Linked DNA regions of Homo sapiens: region 2 is linked to region 1. Evidence: promoter capture Hi-C in 16 types of primary human blood cells and fetal thymus (Javierre and others, 2016). All regions are on one chromosome and are shown on one strand. The core of a region is centred on a gene start or on the middle of the fragment in contact, and the rest is flanking DNA. Distances in the headings are between cores, read along the strand shown.

The links. Contacts are between HindIII fragments. The CHiCAGO score rates a contact against its expected background, and 5 or more counts as called.
Region 2: a contact is called between a fragment that was not itself captured here and the fragment with the promoter of IAH1 in region 1, in 1 of 17 cell types (activated CD4 T cells). The highest score is 5.4, in activated CD4 T cells.

The regions. Positions count from the first base shown.
Region 1 is chr2:9,469,729-9,477,048 of GRCh38, forward strand. IAH1 (isoamyl acetate hydrolyzing esterase 1 (putative)) reads left to right here and starts at 4,823. Exons shown (of 6, transcript NM_001039613.3): 1 at 4,823-4,919; 2 at 6,259-6,311. The coding sequence starts at 4,839. It overlaps CPSF3 (cleavage and polyadenylation specific factor 3), which reads left to right. Exons shown (of 18, transcript NM_016207.4): 17 at 1,615-1,711; 18 at 3,188-3,373. The coding sequence ends at 3,289. RefSeq lists a silencer at 4,595-5,364 and enhancers at 4,634-5,401, 5,882-6,442. The HindIII fragment of the contact is 7,765 bases long and covers 1,181-7,320 here.
Region 2 is chr2:9,758,653-9,765,972 of GRCh38, forward strand. LOC100996549 (a long non-coding RNA gene) reads right to left here. Exons shown (of 3, transcript XR_241267.4): 3 at 1-647. Among named protein-coding and RNA genes, the nearest start is that of TAF1B, 81 kb to the right of the region's middle. RefSeq lists enhancers at 5,008-5,302, 7,121-7,320. The HindIII fragment of the contact is 1,223 bases long and covers 1,973-3,195 here.

The DNA of each region.
Region 1 (7,320 bases), core at 3,573-6,072:
ATGGGAGGTTCCCATGTCCTTAAACTTCAAAGCCAATCGTACCCTTAAAAATGCAGCTATTTCCCCAGTTGTTTAAACACTTAGGATTAGATAGGAGTAGATGTATTGGTTTCTTCAGAGAAGCCAACAGTGGATCACATGAAAATGGAACCTTTTTTCCTATCCTTTTGAATACATTTCTGTGTTTAAAATATAATTTTTTTGGCTGGGTGTGGTGACCCACACCTGTAATCCCAGCACTTTGGGAAGCCAAGGCAGGTGGATCACTTGAGGTTAGGGGTTCGAGACCAGCCTGGCCAACATGGCAAAACCCCATCCAAAATACCCCTACTAAAAATACAAAAATGAGCCAGGTGTGGTGGTGGGTGCTTGTAATCCCAACTACTCAGGAGGCTGAGGGAGGAGAATTGCTTAAACCAGGAGGCAGAGGTTGCAGTGGGCCGAGATCGGGACACTGCACTCCAGCCTGGGCAACAAGCAAGACTCCGTCTCAAAATAAATAAATAAAATAAAATATAATCTTTTCCTTTGTGCTAGGGTCCCACCTAAGTTTATTCACACATATGATGAGCAGTAACTGCCTGAAGATGCAAGGAGTTGATTCCCACTCCCCACTTCCCCCGCTTAATACAGTGTTGTCAGTGCTTAACTGTCCTAGGCTGACCATGGTCCATGGGTTGTTTAGAGTCACTGCCTGCCTTTCTTACCTGCATTCAGCCTGCTGGTGGACTGCTGTTTCCTAACACCTCTGTACCAATGGGGACGATGTTGAAATTAACCATCAAAACTGTTTCTCTCGATGACAGAGGCAATGTCTTAGTGCCTTCTTTATCCCCAGCTACTAGCACAGAAGGAATCTGCCACACAGAAGATGCTCAATAAATACCAAGTTTAATTAAAGTAGGAGTGCACAGCTAGTGGGCTTGGGAGCCATTTAAACCTAGATACCTGGATTTGAATGCCGGCTCAGCTGTTTACTAGCTGTGAGGCTTTAAGCAAATCACTTAACTTCTGTGTCTTGTTTTCTTCACATGTAAAAGGGGATCCTTACTAAAATTATAGGTTAAGATAATGTATATAAACCACCTAGCATGATGCCTGCTGAATAGATCATTCTTGAATAAAGCTGTGTATTTTCCCTGTTTTATAAACTTAATAAGCTGTATCAAGGCAAATAAGAAGCTTGTCTCAAAAGTAAATACAGGCTGGGCATGGTGACTCCTGCCTGTAATCCCAACACTTTGGGAGGCCAAGGCAGGTGGATCACTTGAGGCTAGGAGTTCAAGACCAGCCTGGCCAACATGGTGAAACCCTGACTCTACTAAAAATACAAAAATTAGCTGGCTGTGGTGGTGCACACCTGTAATCCCAGCTACTAGGGAGGCTGAGGCAGGAGAATCACTTGAATCCGGGAGGCGGAGGTTGTAGTGAGCCAAGATTGTGCCACTGCGCTCCAGCCTGGGCCACAGAGCAAGACTCCATCTCAAAAAAAAAAAGAAAAAAAGTAAATACAGTATTCTGCTTTAGAACTAGGACCTATCTTCAGTTTTATTTTTTCCTCAAATATATAAAGCCGGGCATTTTCACTAATCCTGCATTTCTGCTTATTTTCAGGGACATATTTGGAGAAGACTGTGTAAGTGTAAAGGATGACTCTATTCTTAGCGTCACAGTGGACGGGAAAACTGCCAACCTTAACTTGGAGACACGGGTATGTAGCTGCTCTTTCCTACGTTTCAAGACATTTGGGAAATAAAGTGAAGGCATAAATAATCTGTGCTCTCACACTCAACAGTCTACTGTTGCATATTGGCATTTGCTTCCAGTGTTTCCAACATTTTTTTCACATTGTTCTTTTTATATTATTATGGTTGAAGTTTTCCGTGTTTTTCCGGGTTACTGCATAGTACAAGGTTCGCGTGTATGCCACTCCATTGCTGTCCTCTTCCATAATACAGCTTAGTTCACCTCATCCCTTCTCTAGTTTGGCATCTAGTTGACTCTCCATTTTTTAAAGAAGCCGCTCTTCTGTTTGCACCAGCAAGATCCAAGTGGATTTTCCAAACAGTTCAAAACCAGCCCGGGCAACACAGTTAAACCCCATCTCTACTAAAAAATACAAAAAAAATTAGCCGGGAATGGCGGCAGCTGCCTGTAGTCCCAGCTACTCAGGAGGCTGAGGCAGGAGAATTGCTTGAAACAGGGAGGCAGAGGTTGCAGTGAGCCAAGATCACATTACTGCACTCCAGCCTGGATGATAGAGCGAGACTCTGTCTCCAAAAAAAAAAAAAAAAAGAACTAGAGGCCAGGCGTGGTGGTTCACGCCTGTAATCCCAACACTTTGGGAGGTCAAGGTGGGTGGATCATCTGAGGTCAAGAGTTTGAGACCAGCCTGGCCAACATGATGAAACCCCATCTCTACTAAAAATACAAAAATTACCCAGGCGTGGTGGTGTGCCTGTAATCCCAGCTACTTGGGAGGCTAAGGCAGGAGAACCCAGGAATCACCTTAACCCAAGAGACAGAGGTTGCAGTGAGCTGAGATCACATCACTGCACTCCAGCCTGGGCGACAGAGCGAGATTCTGTCTCAAAAAAAAAAAAAAAAAGAAGCAACTAGAAGATTATTAGTGAGTTTCAGTCAAATTCAGTACCAAATGTTGAGTAGATAGCCACATCCATTCCTTGCCAAGTAATTTGTGTGGCATAGATGAACTTCCCTGGAGTATCATTTACTAGATCAAACTGTGGGCTTTGATGTAAATGTAGTTTACTAGACTTTCCCCAGTCTTTCACCCCAGCCTCAAGTCATCACTAATTAGGACCGTGCTGCTGTCAGGAAGCACTGCACGCCCACAAGTGTGTAGGGCGGCCGTTCTGTTTCATGGTAATCAGTCCCACCATGACCTCTGCACACACAGATGATTGTTCTTTTTTTTAGTTTGAGACCCGGTCTCGCAGTGCCGCCCAGGCTGGAGTGCAGTGGTGCAGTCACAGCTCACTGCAGCCTCAACCTTCCCGGCTCAGTGATCCTCCCACCTCAGACTCTTATCTGGGACCACAGGCACACGCCACCACAGCTGGCTAATTTTTTATGAGATGATGGTTTTTTTAAAGAGTATTCATTTATCTTCTATATAATCATTATAGACTTAATTCTAACAGTCTTGTTTGTGCCTCACTTTCAGACTGTAGAATGTGAAGAGGGAAGTGAAGACGATGAATCCCTCCGAGAAATGGTGGAGCTGGCTGCACAGAGACTGTACGAGGCCCTGACGCCAGTTCACTGAGACTGTGCCTGTATATGAACTTTGAAAAAATACTTGACTCTACTTTTGTTACCTAAAATAAAATGCATTCGTTTCTCTGGGGGAGCCTGTTTACTTTTAATGTCAAATGGCCTTTATTTCAACAGCCTGAATACTGCTAAATTGCTAATTAATTTGTCCATTATTCTAGAACTAACTACTAGATCAACTGCCCATTATTTTAGAATTTTGGATTCTTCTTCCAGGCATGTATGTGCAGCTCCCATTGAAACCATCAAGATCTGCCGATAGCAACCGCTGCTGGTTACCCTCTCCTCTGGGGTAACCAATTTGAGTTAATAATAAGGATTCTAAGTTGCACTTGAATCTTTTCTGTCTTCATCTCCACTGCTGCTGTTCGAGTCCAAGTCTACTCTCCCCTCTGAATTCCTGCAACCACCTCCATCTCCTCCCCTATAGCTGATTCCTGGAACAGACCTGGCCTCAAGCCTCTGCTGCTTGAAGGCCTTAATGAAGTCCTTGTGATAAAGATGAAGTCCAGGCACCTTTGCTTGCTCTAGCAGGGGCTCTCAATCTGGGCTACCCGTGGGAATCACGTGGGGTGCATCACAAGTGCACCTGTGCCCAAGTCCTGCCACCAGGAGGTGAGTTAGTCCGGCTGGAATGAGGGCCCTAGGTTGGATCTTAGTTGTAAAGCTCCCCCAGGTGATCCAAGCGAGCTTGGGACGAGCAACCTAAAGAAAGTCATGCTCTACGCCCATCGCCCCGCCCCAGGGAGCGGGGTCGGCCTCTGCGCCGGCGCCCCTGGCCCTTCTGTTACTCATCTACAGCTCCGTGATTTCAAGGCATCCTTCCCACCCGTTCGTTTTTAGCTCGGCTGCCGAACTTCATTGCACAGTTGAGGTAAGAACGTTGCATTACAACCACGTTTTAACAGGTGAATCCCTTGGAAGTTAGTCAGTGCTCCGTGTCCGCGGGGTTCTGCATCTGCGCATCCACCCCACGGCGGGAAAAAGAAAAGCGGCCGGCTGCGCGCGCACTGAAGGTGCAGCTGCTTTCCCTTGTCATTCGCAGAACCACGAGGTACTGCCAGGGTTTCCGCAGTGCCTGCGTCCTCGTGGGTGTTACAGGCCCTCCAGAGTGACGCTGGGCGCAGGAGGCCGCGCGCGCATCCCACGACCTCTTCCAGGGGGGCCTGGAGCAGCCCTCCGCCCCACCGAGAGCCAGCTGTGCTTCCCGCCGCGCGTCCTGAGGTCACACTCCTGCCCTTTGCCGAACGCACCTGCGCCCGCGGAGCGCGGGGTGGGCTTAGAAGGGCCCCCAACCGCTTTTCTTCCGGGAACCACGCAGCGGGACGCGGGCTCCGGACTCCCTGGGGGCAGCCTTGCTGTGGGTGAGCAAGCGCGGAGGCCGAGCTTCTTGCAAACGGACTCCAAGGGGCAACGACCTTCGCGCGTCACCAAAGTGACTGCGTGGGTGCCCACGAGCCCGGCTCCCGCAACCCACGGGCGGCCACTGCGCAGGCGCCTCTCGTGGCTGGCGGCCCCGCCCCGCCCCGCCCGGCTGCTCCATGGCGCTGTGCGAGGCCGCGGGCTGCGGGAGTGCCCTGCTCTGGCCTCGCTTGTTGCTCTTCGGGGACTCCATCACCCAGGTACGGCCGCCCCGACGCTCGGCCTCCCGCCCCGGCCTCCCTGCGGGGTCGCTGCCGAGCAGGCCGAGGCTCCTCGCCGTCCTCTTCGGCGCCCGAGACGGCTGGGCCGGAGGCCTGGCCACGCCCGTGGAGACACCGGAGGAGTGGCGGGTCCCCCAGTGGCTGCGCCTTCCGGGCCCGCGGCGTCCCGGAGGTCACGACGGCGTCCGCGAGAGCCCGGGCTCCAGGCACAGACGCGAGGGGACCCGGCCGCGCTGCCCGCCCCGCGCCGCCTCCCACCCGGGTCGAGATGCGCGGTCTTCCCCTCAGCGCCCTCCTGGGCAGCGGCCTTTCCCCTCCGGGTCCGGGTTAGCGGCCGCGGGCGACCGCGCGCTGTGTCCCAGGAGGCCCCGCGGCCAGCTCCGGGCAGAGGCGCCAGGAGCTCTCTCGCCCCATTCCCTGCGGGCACAGGTGGGGCCGTTAGGGGTTGACCTTGGAAGTAAAACGCCTTCAGGAATTAGGTAGAAAAGGACCATCCGTTCATCCAAGATCATCTCACCTCCCATGAAGGGAACGGTCTTCTAAATGCAGGTTCTTACTTCGGGGAGGGAGTAGAAATTCCATTCCTGTGTGTGTCCTCTTCTCAGACAGGACTTGCTTCACCAGGCTTTTGTGTATACGCCAGTAACTGGTAACATTATGTTTAGGCATATGGGGCAGTCAGAGCTGCCGAATTCCATGGGAATGTGTATGAAAAAGTGTTCACCCTCAGCTCGGTAACCAGCAAAGCAGTGAGGCGGTGTGGCCTTCATTTCCTCACTGACCTTTGACTTTATTTCCTGAACTTAGATTTCTGTTTAGCTTTTTTTTTTTTTTCTTTTTTTCTTTTTTTGAGACGGAGTCTCGCTCTGTCGCCCAGACTGGAGTGCAGTAGCGCGATCTCGGCTCACTGCAAGCTCCGCCTCCCGGATTCAAGCGTTTCTCCTGCCTCAGCCTCCCGAGTAGCTGGGATTATAGACGTGCGCCACCACACCGGGCTAATTTTTGTAATTTTAGTAGAGACGGGGTTTCGCCATGTTGACCAGGCTGGTCTCGAACTCGAGACCTCATGTGATCCGCCCGCCTTGGCCTCCCAAAGTGCTGGGAATACAGGCTGTTTAGCTTTTGATAGAGAAAAATCCCCCTCTGCTAAAGTGCTGCCAGGTGTACTTACCTGTAATCCCCAAAATGACCTCCTGGAGTGAAGCAATCAAAGCCAAGAAGGGAGCGCCGAGAAAACAGAAGTTGCCAATCAGAACTGCCCTCGCTGAGATGCCCGGTTACAGTCATTAGTAGTAATAATGGGCTTTTCTTCCTCCAGTTTTCCTTCCAGCAGGGTGGATGGGGAGCATCGCTGGCTGACAGGCTGGTCAGGTGAGAATGGTTTCCGATACTTGAGTTCTTATGGATGGAAAATGTCTTAGGGATCCGTCTTATGGATGAAGGATAGTTCTGAACAGAACATTCCTCCTTTATTAATTTTGCTTGCCTCCCCTAATCAGTATATAGGAGAAGGAACAGAAAACATTTACTCTTCACTCAGTCTGACCAATTAGATATTTTAGGGTTGAGCACTGATGGCTGGGTAGACTCAGACAAATCAAGGAAATGGCCAAGGCCTCTTCCCTAGTCAGGGGCAGACAGATCCAAGTCCAGCTGCTATGACTGCAGAACTTGCAGTTTCACTGCTACACCACACTGGTAGGAAGCTACTTTGCCTTTTTTTGAAGTGCTGCCATGACTTAAGACTCACCTTGTCACAATTCTACCGCACTTTGTTTTGGTTTTTGGTGGTTTTTGTTTTGCGACAGGGTCTCTTGTTAGGCGCGTCCACGTGAAGAGACCACCAAACAGGCTTTGTGTGAGCAACAAGGCTGTTTATTCACTTGGGTGCAAGTGGGCTGAGTCTGAAAAGAGCAAAGGGAGATGGGTAGGGCAGTACTATAGGATTTGGGTAGGTAGTGGAAAATTACAGTTAAAGGTGGTTATCTATTGTTAGCAGGGGAAGGGGGTCACAAGGTGCTCTGTGGGGAGCTCCTGAGACTCATTGTCCAGGGGAGGAATGCCACAAGGTCGATTGATTAGTTAGGGTGGGGCAGGAACAAATCACAATGGTGGAATGTCATCAGTTAAGGCAGGAACTGGCTGTTTCACTCCTTTTGTGGTTCTTCAGTTGCTCCAGGCCACCTGGATGTATACGTGCAGGTAACAGGTTATGACGGCTTAGCTTGGGCTCAGAGGCCTGACAACTCTGTCACACAGGCTTGAGTGCAGCAGTGTGATCAGGGCTCACTGCAGCCTCCACCTCTGGGGCTGAAGGCATCATCACCTCAGCCTCCTGAGTAGCTGGGACCAACAGGCACTCGCTACCACACCCAGCCCA
Region 2 (7,320 bases), core at 1,334-3,833, 290 kb after region 1:
TGGTCTTCAGTATGTCCAAAGAGCAAAGAGAAGGTTGTAGGTTTCATAAAAATGAGAAATGTTATGGATTGTTAGGAAAGCAAGTTCATTAGCACTAGCAACGTTTTGGGGATCCGGCAAGCTCTGATTGGTGAGTGGGTGAAACTAGTCTTAGATTTCCGCAGGTTGTTTCTGTAGCTATTAGATCAAACCGGTTTCAGGTTGCAACACTTGTTCCAGCAGCCAGGGTTGGAGACAGTTATACTCTTGGAGCAATGTTACGTGGTCCAAGTGCTTTTTCCTGTGGTCTCATAACTCTGCTTGGCTATGACAACAGTGACCTTTGTATGATCAACTTTCACAGTGGCCACAGGAGAAGCCAGATTTGAGCCCATGCCCATGCCTTCTGGCTGGCTTTCTCTCCCTTGCTCCTGGCAGGGCAATGCAGGGTGAGTGACAGAAGTGGACTCAGCTACAGGCAACATTGAGTGATCTAGGTTCCAAGTATGGCACTTTATCCGTTGTCTTATCAACATAAAGATACAGCGCTTTGAAATTTTGTCAAATTCAGGTTTGAGCAGCCTGATGCAGAAATTCCTGGGTCAGGGACTCCAGGGCGGGGATTTGGAGGGGTGAGCTGGCTGCAAAGTCTCTGGTCAATGTGGGTTCTGGAAAAGAAAGAAAGAAGGAAGGGAGTCTCCTCACTTCACCTCTCTGGTCTCTCCAACAGTGTCCACCGTTCTGAGCCCTCAGCTGCCTGTAGCTCTTTACAGAACAGACCCCACCCTGCTTTGTATCCAACTTTGTATCCAGCATCTCAGATGTTGCCACAAGGGGCAAAACCAGGGGTTGGGTGACTCCCTAGCCAGAACTCCAAGGCTACACATAGCTATTTAGACAAAAGAAGTGTGCTTATTTATTTGCTTTAGGATGCAATTTCATGAGTGACATTTAGCATTTGTTGAGCCCCTATGTTTACAAAGTGCTTCCACCCACATGGTCTCATTGGACCACCTGTGAGGGAGCACAATGTGACCTCCACCTTAAGGACTGAGTGTGGGAGTTGACCAGGAGCCCAGGACTGTCCAACTCCTATTCTAGGGGGTTCTTTACATCCACAGAGGTTTTGAAACCCAGGAGCATGCCTTCCGGAGCACTTAAATTGCATTTGATGTTTAATGACTCTTATTTACTTATCACAAATACAATTTTTAGTGATACGAGAGCCAAGTCACAAAGACTAGATTAAACATTACTCTCTTCTGTTGCATTGGCTTCTCTACATCATGGTAACAGGTTGTCAGGTTCAACTGCAGCATTGCTGTTAGAGGCAAAGGTAGGCAGGAAGCTCATTCTTGCAATCCCTAGAACTTTAGTAAAAACTCAAAGATATCTATTTTTCTAACCAGATACTATTAGCTTTATTTTGCATCCATTCATTTACTGAAGCCTACATGTGTTTCAGTAACTATGCTAAAAGATTCTGTTTGTCCCTATTTAAGGGCACTCTTAGTTCAGTGGGAGTTGGTGGCAGTGGCAGATATGTACAGTTACAAGGTGATGCAATGACAGTGACAGGCAGAGGGAGGTCTGGGAGCACAGAGGGGAGGCACCTAATCCAGCCTGGTTATATCAGGGAGGGCTTCTTGGAGGAGGTGACATCTGAGTTTCTCAAAGGAGAAGGTAGCCAAGGGAAGGAAAAGAAGATGCAGGAAGTAGAGAGAGGCTGTTGAAGGAACTGGGGCACGGGAGCATTGGGTACTCAAACAAGGAGTGGTTTGCGGAGACGGACCTTAGGGAACACAGTGGATGTGGGAAAAGCTCAGCCCAGCCCTCTGTCATGGGTTTTGTATGCTGAGCCACTGGGAGACTTAAAAAAAGAAGACCTTTTATAAAGAGCAGTTTTAGGTTTACAGCAAAATTGAGCAGAAGGTACAGAGAGTTCCCATAGAGCCCCTGCCCCCACCAGAGTTGTACATTTGTTACAATAATAAGCTTGCATTGACACATCATGTTCATCCCACTGGAAGATTCTGAGCAGGGAAAACATTTTCACATTACCTTTTACAAAGTCTTCTTCCTGGCACTGAGTCACAGTCGTTTTTAAACAATTAATGGTGTAGGTTGCTACTTAGCATTTCCCCAGAGCAAATGTTTCTATGATCTCCAAAAGACAGAGGATATGATGTCTTCTTGCCCCACCCTGTAGATCTGTAAACCTAGAACAATGGCTGGTCATAGCAGATGCTTAGAAAGTAGAGGAGGGTAGAGGCGGGAGGAAAGCAGGGGTAGAAAGAAGGACTAGAGGAGGGTAGAGGCGGGAGGAAAGCAGGGGTAGAAAGAGGGAGTAGAGGAGGGTAGAGGCGGGAGGAAAGCAGGGGTAGAGAGAGGGAGGGAGAAAGATAGCCACAAGGTCTCTTGTGTATTTCAGAAACATCATTCTGGCAGCAAACAGAGGAAAGATGGCAGAGGGTGTGGCTTGTGGTCAGGGACAGTTAGGAGACTACTGTCATGCTCCAGGTGCAAAGCGCAAGTGGTCTGAGTAGGTGGCCGCGGTGGAGAGAAGGGGACATCGAAAAGGTGGGATCTACCCCACCAGGTGCCTGAGGGTGTGAGTGCAGTAGAAAACCACTGGGAAGTTTTCAAGGCCCAGGCCCAGCTCTCAGTCTTCTCTGAACCATCGAACTAGAGGGAGAGTTTGTAAGGACTCCAAAGGGAAAGAGAACACGGGAGGGAAGGAGGGTTGGGGAGGGTCAGGTAGGATGCTTAAGGTGGATTGAGTTTGAAATATACAAGCTAAGAAAAATGTCAGATGGTTCTTGTTTATTGTCTAAAGAGTAGAGGGGAGAAAAACAGAAAACAGACGTTTATGTTGTTGAGTGTTAGACAAAAGGCCCCACGTCCCCTGCTTCTGAGTGAGAATGACGATGTGCTGTAGGATGACAGGGCCCTTTGGAGGTTCTGTCTGCAAGATAATCTGTTTGCAGATGAGCTCCAGGCACGGGGAAGGTGCGTGGTGTCAGTGTGGCTTGCTGAACTCACAGCAAGCCATTTCAGGGATGCTGGGACGGAAGCCGCCCTCCCTTTCCTGCCTCTGCTTCCAAGTTCTTTCTCTGCAGCCCTGTCAACGCGCCGCCTTTGCTTCATAGCACATCTCCTAATGGGCTCTGGCGGTGCTGAGGCAGCCTTCATATTCCATTTGTTCCTTGGATAATAAGCTTAGCCTCGAAGCCAAAAGAGAAAGCCCTGATGACTATTAAATACACATGCACGGGGCTGACTGCTCCCCAAAACCCCCAGCTGGACATCGCACCAGCTCAGCAAGGCCATTTGCATCCAGGCAAATGGCCCTCAGTGACTAATAGAAATCCACCTCTATCTTGGCAAGGAAGGCCTTCAGCATGCAGCATTAATTTGGTTTGCACAGTGGGATGGAACACATCTTTAGTTCCTTTTAGGGAACTGACTTACGCTTTCTCCAAAGGGTGCTTCCTGGGGGCTCCCAGACATTGGAAGTGCTGGGTGTAACTCGTCTCAGGGGCTCCCTAGTCCCAAGCACAATCTGCCTTATTTTTTTTTTCCAGTTTTACCGCTCAGAGAGGATTGTGATGACGAGGTCACCTGGATCCTAATAACGCTTCAAGTCATCATTAGGGATTGATGCATTTGGCCTGGCATGGACAGCACCGCTGCAGCTCACAGCCAGAATGATTCTGTCTGGCTTCCCCCTCCACACCAGAAGTCTGGAAATGCAGCCTGTTCTTTTCCATTTGGAGTCCCGGGATCTGGGTTATTATTGCCAAAGGCAAAGGAATGAGTTTCTAGAATTATAACTTGGAGGAGCAATGCACCAGGGAGTAAACCTAGGAAGTTTCCAGAAAGCTAGAAGGTGATTATCTCCACAGTGTACTCTGAATGTGAAAACCCAACTAACAGAACATTCAGACGTAAGTGCAGGACTCCTCAGCCTGTCTCCACCAGGACTTTTAGTCAGTCTAGGAGGGCAAGAAAGATCACTTCAATTTTAGGATCTTACTGCACTCTTGGGGCAAAAATAAGCCTGTGGCCTTCGGGGGTCTCCAAGACACCTGCTCAATAAGGATGTTTAGTCTCAACCTCCAGAATGAACTAGGCTCAATTCAAATAAAATTGGTGAGGACCCACTAGTGCCGGGTGGGAGGTGACTAAGGTGGGTACAGGGGAAGGGATGTCCTCAGTCCTATGGTCATGGGCTTGCTGGCTGGGCCCTCACCCCAGAGAGCAGTCGCCCAGGGGCTGCAGCACCAGAAGGCCTTCCCCACTGTTAAAGCCTAAGGCCTTGTCCGGGAAGACTAAGGCCTGGAGGAAATCACCTGGCGAAGAACTGGGACTAAAGGGCTGTGCTTTGTGCCAGGATCAGGCATTTTCCAGGTTTTCTGAGCAGATCGTGTGGTACATGGGCAGGGCCAGCACATACGGTTGTGCATGTTGTCCACTGTGCAAGGACATCCAGCTGAAAGGTGAGCGAGGGCTAGATTCCAGCATGCCTGCCGCTCACCACACTGTGTGCCCATGGTGTTGCGTCTGTCCAGAAGGGGCATCCTTCTCTAAGTCACACAGACAGACCCTGTGGGCTCGCTAGGGCCCTGGACATGAGGAGAATGAAACACCCCAGGGAAGGGGTCAGCGAGATTTGGCTGAGCAGCACAGGGCTGCAGACAGGATGGAAAATACTCCCTTTACCACACTGGCTGCCTTGCCTTTGGTGCTTTGGAAGGGAATTGCAGGAATTAATAACCAAACTCACTCTATTCCATTCCTAGCACCTTGTACACATTCATGGCCATGTTAACTCTACCTATGCCTCCTCCTGGGCTTGCGTGCAGTTATTCCCAGCGAATCCCTGCAGGTGCTGTAAGAGACAGATCTCTGCACAGGCGGCTCGTCCTGCCAGCTGGAGTCAAGGTTATCTCATCCAGGCTGGCCAAAACCCATAAGCAGCCCTCTTTCAGAATTCTGCCTGCTGTGCTACCTAAATATAGTTCATGTTACCTGTCTTTTAAAAATATTTCTAGCCTCTCTTTTTTCCCCTGTATATTCATGATTTAATTTTGTATGCCACTTTTTTCCGTTGCTACATGCTAAGCATTTTCCATAGTGCCACGTCATTTCCACACTGCCCTGTGTCATTATGGCTGTATTATCGCCAGCTAAGCAGGGCTCTGTAGTCTGACTAATCATTATCAAATGGTTTACTTAGCAGACACATGTCCCCCTGGTAGGAAATGTTAAGTGAGGGGTAGAAGATCTCTCCTCAACTCTGTTCTATTCAACATTTTTGCTGATAGCCAAGATGAAGGTGTAGCATGCAGACCACTCAACAAATTGGCAAAAGACACAGAACTGGAAAGGGTAATACATTGTTTGGACAAAGTAATCAAGATTCAAGATTGCCCAGCAATGCTTCCCTGGAAGCTTCTTCTTACCTACCCCTGTCTGCATAGGGTTTTGTCAGAAAACATTTTAAATGGTCCACTTTCAAGGCATGATAAATCTAAGCACTGGCAGCCAGCCCGTGAATGTAACAAATGGCACAGCTCATGCACCTGGAAGGTCTTGATAAACAAACAGAATGTAGAAGAGGGGTCAGCCCATAAAAGGGAAGAAAGTTCTATTATTGGGAAATTGAAACTTAAGAGGGGAAGAGGACAGGGTATAACCTTATAAGGGGGATAATGGCACTTAGGCAACATCCAGGAAGATTGTCACCCCACAGTACTCAACCATGAGGAACTGGGGGAGGGACTTGTGTGCTAGGAGATAAATTACCTGCTGTAGCTGCCCCAGATGTGCCTGCCTACTGGCCACCCGATCTTGCAAGACCTCTATTAAAAGTCTCACTTTTGCTGTTCTTTGTCCTCTGAGTCCATTGTTTGGGTTTGCACAGATGAGCGTGTTTCTCCCAGTTTTACTCAGCAGCCACAACCACAGCAGGTGGCTCATTGGTGCAAGGTGGGCAAGAGACCCGAACTGGGCCAGAGAACCTTCCTGATGATTTTGGAATTGGGGCTTACAGATTCCAGGCGTCTCCAGGTGGCTTGAGCATAGCACATCAGCTACGGAGACACTGTGGCTGTGTTTTGTCTTGTGACCCCGAAGTGGAGGAGGCTGGCTGGGAGACAGACTCAGCGAGAAGGAAGGTGCAGAGAAAAGCAAGAGAAAAGAGAGGCAACTAGAACCCTGCTTCATTTGTTCCTGAAGCCCAGTCACATTTCTGCCCCCTTATTCAGAAAGTCCATATCATGAGAATACAATCCCTCAGCCTGGCATCTGTGTTCATTGCAGCTGAGAAGGTCCCAGTGAAGCCAGCAGACAGAAGATCTGCAGTCTTGGTCTCCAGTTGACTCAAAGTTCAACAGAGTCAACAGGCTGCAGAAGAATCAAGCCCCAAATTGGGGGAAAGACCACATTTGGAGGGTGACAGTTTTGGTGTGACCTCAGCAAACAGTAGGATGCCTGAAGAAGTCCCCTGGACAGTAAAATCAGGCTCTACACTCAAGGGCTGAAAGAATTAGATAAATTTTGGCAGAAGAAGGGAAGAAGATTTGGCAGAAAGACACATTTGTCATATAGGGTGTGGAGAACCAAGGTCAGAACTAGGACAAACAAATGAAAGATGCCTGAATGCAAATTTTGGCAAGTTTTTTTCTAGCAGGTATCTGCTAGTGGATGGGGTTTCCTGGGAAGAGGCAGCCAACAGGCAGGAGTTTTAGCAGAGGCTGGGTGGCCGCACGTTGGGTAGGTGAACCTCCTGAACAGAGGTGGTTGGACACATCCAACCCCAGCCCATGGTTCTGGGGTTGGTGTGAAGTGGCATTTTCCCTATCTTCTGTAGACTGAGAAGTGACCCTCTAACAGATGTTTCAGAAATCCCAGGAGTAGAACGTTTGCCTTGAACTCCTCCTCCCAAGCAGTCCCTCATTTAGGAAATCACCCCAATGGAAGCAGCAAAGGAAGCTTTCTCTGAGTGAAGGGCAGTGCCCACAGTGGCCTGCCAAGAGTATGTGGCCCTCCCTGACTGTCCCTACCTCTGGTGGGAACCTAGAGGGGGCGGGAGGACATATGAGTAAGTGCACCCCCTAAAGGACACAGGGGCTGTTGCCTTGCAGAGGGTCACATGCTGGGCTTGCCTGGCGAACTGGAATCTCTCAATTCAAAGTCCACAGGCAGACAGGGAAGTAATTTCCTAGAAATTAAGTCTGAACACTACAGAGCCTCTCCTCAAAGAGTGAATATGGGCCGGCAGCTGGGGCACACGGGGGCCTTGTGTGTGCATGTGTAAGGGTGTGTACTGTTACGTGT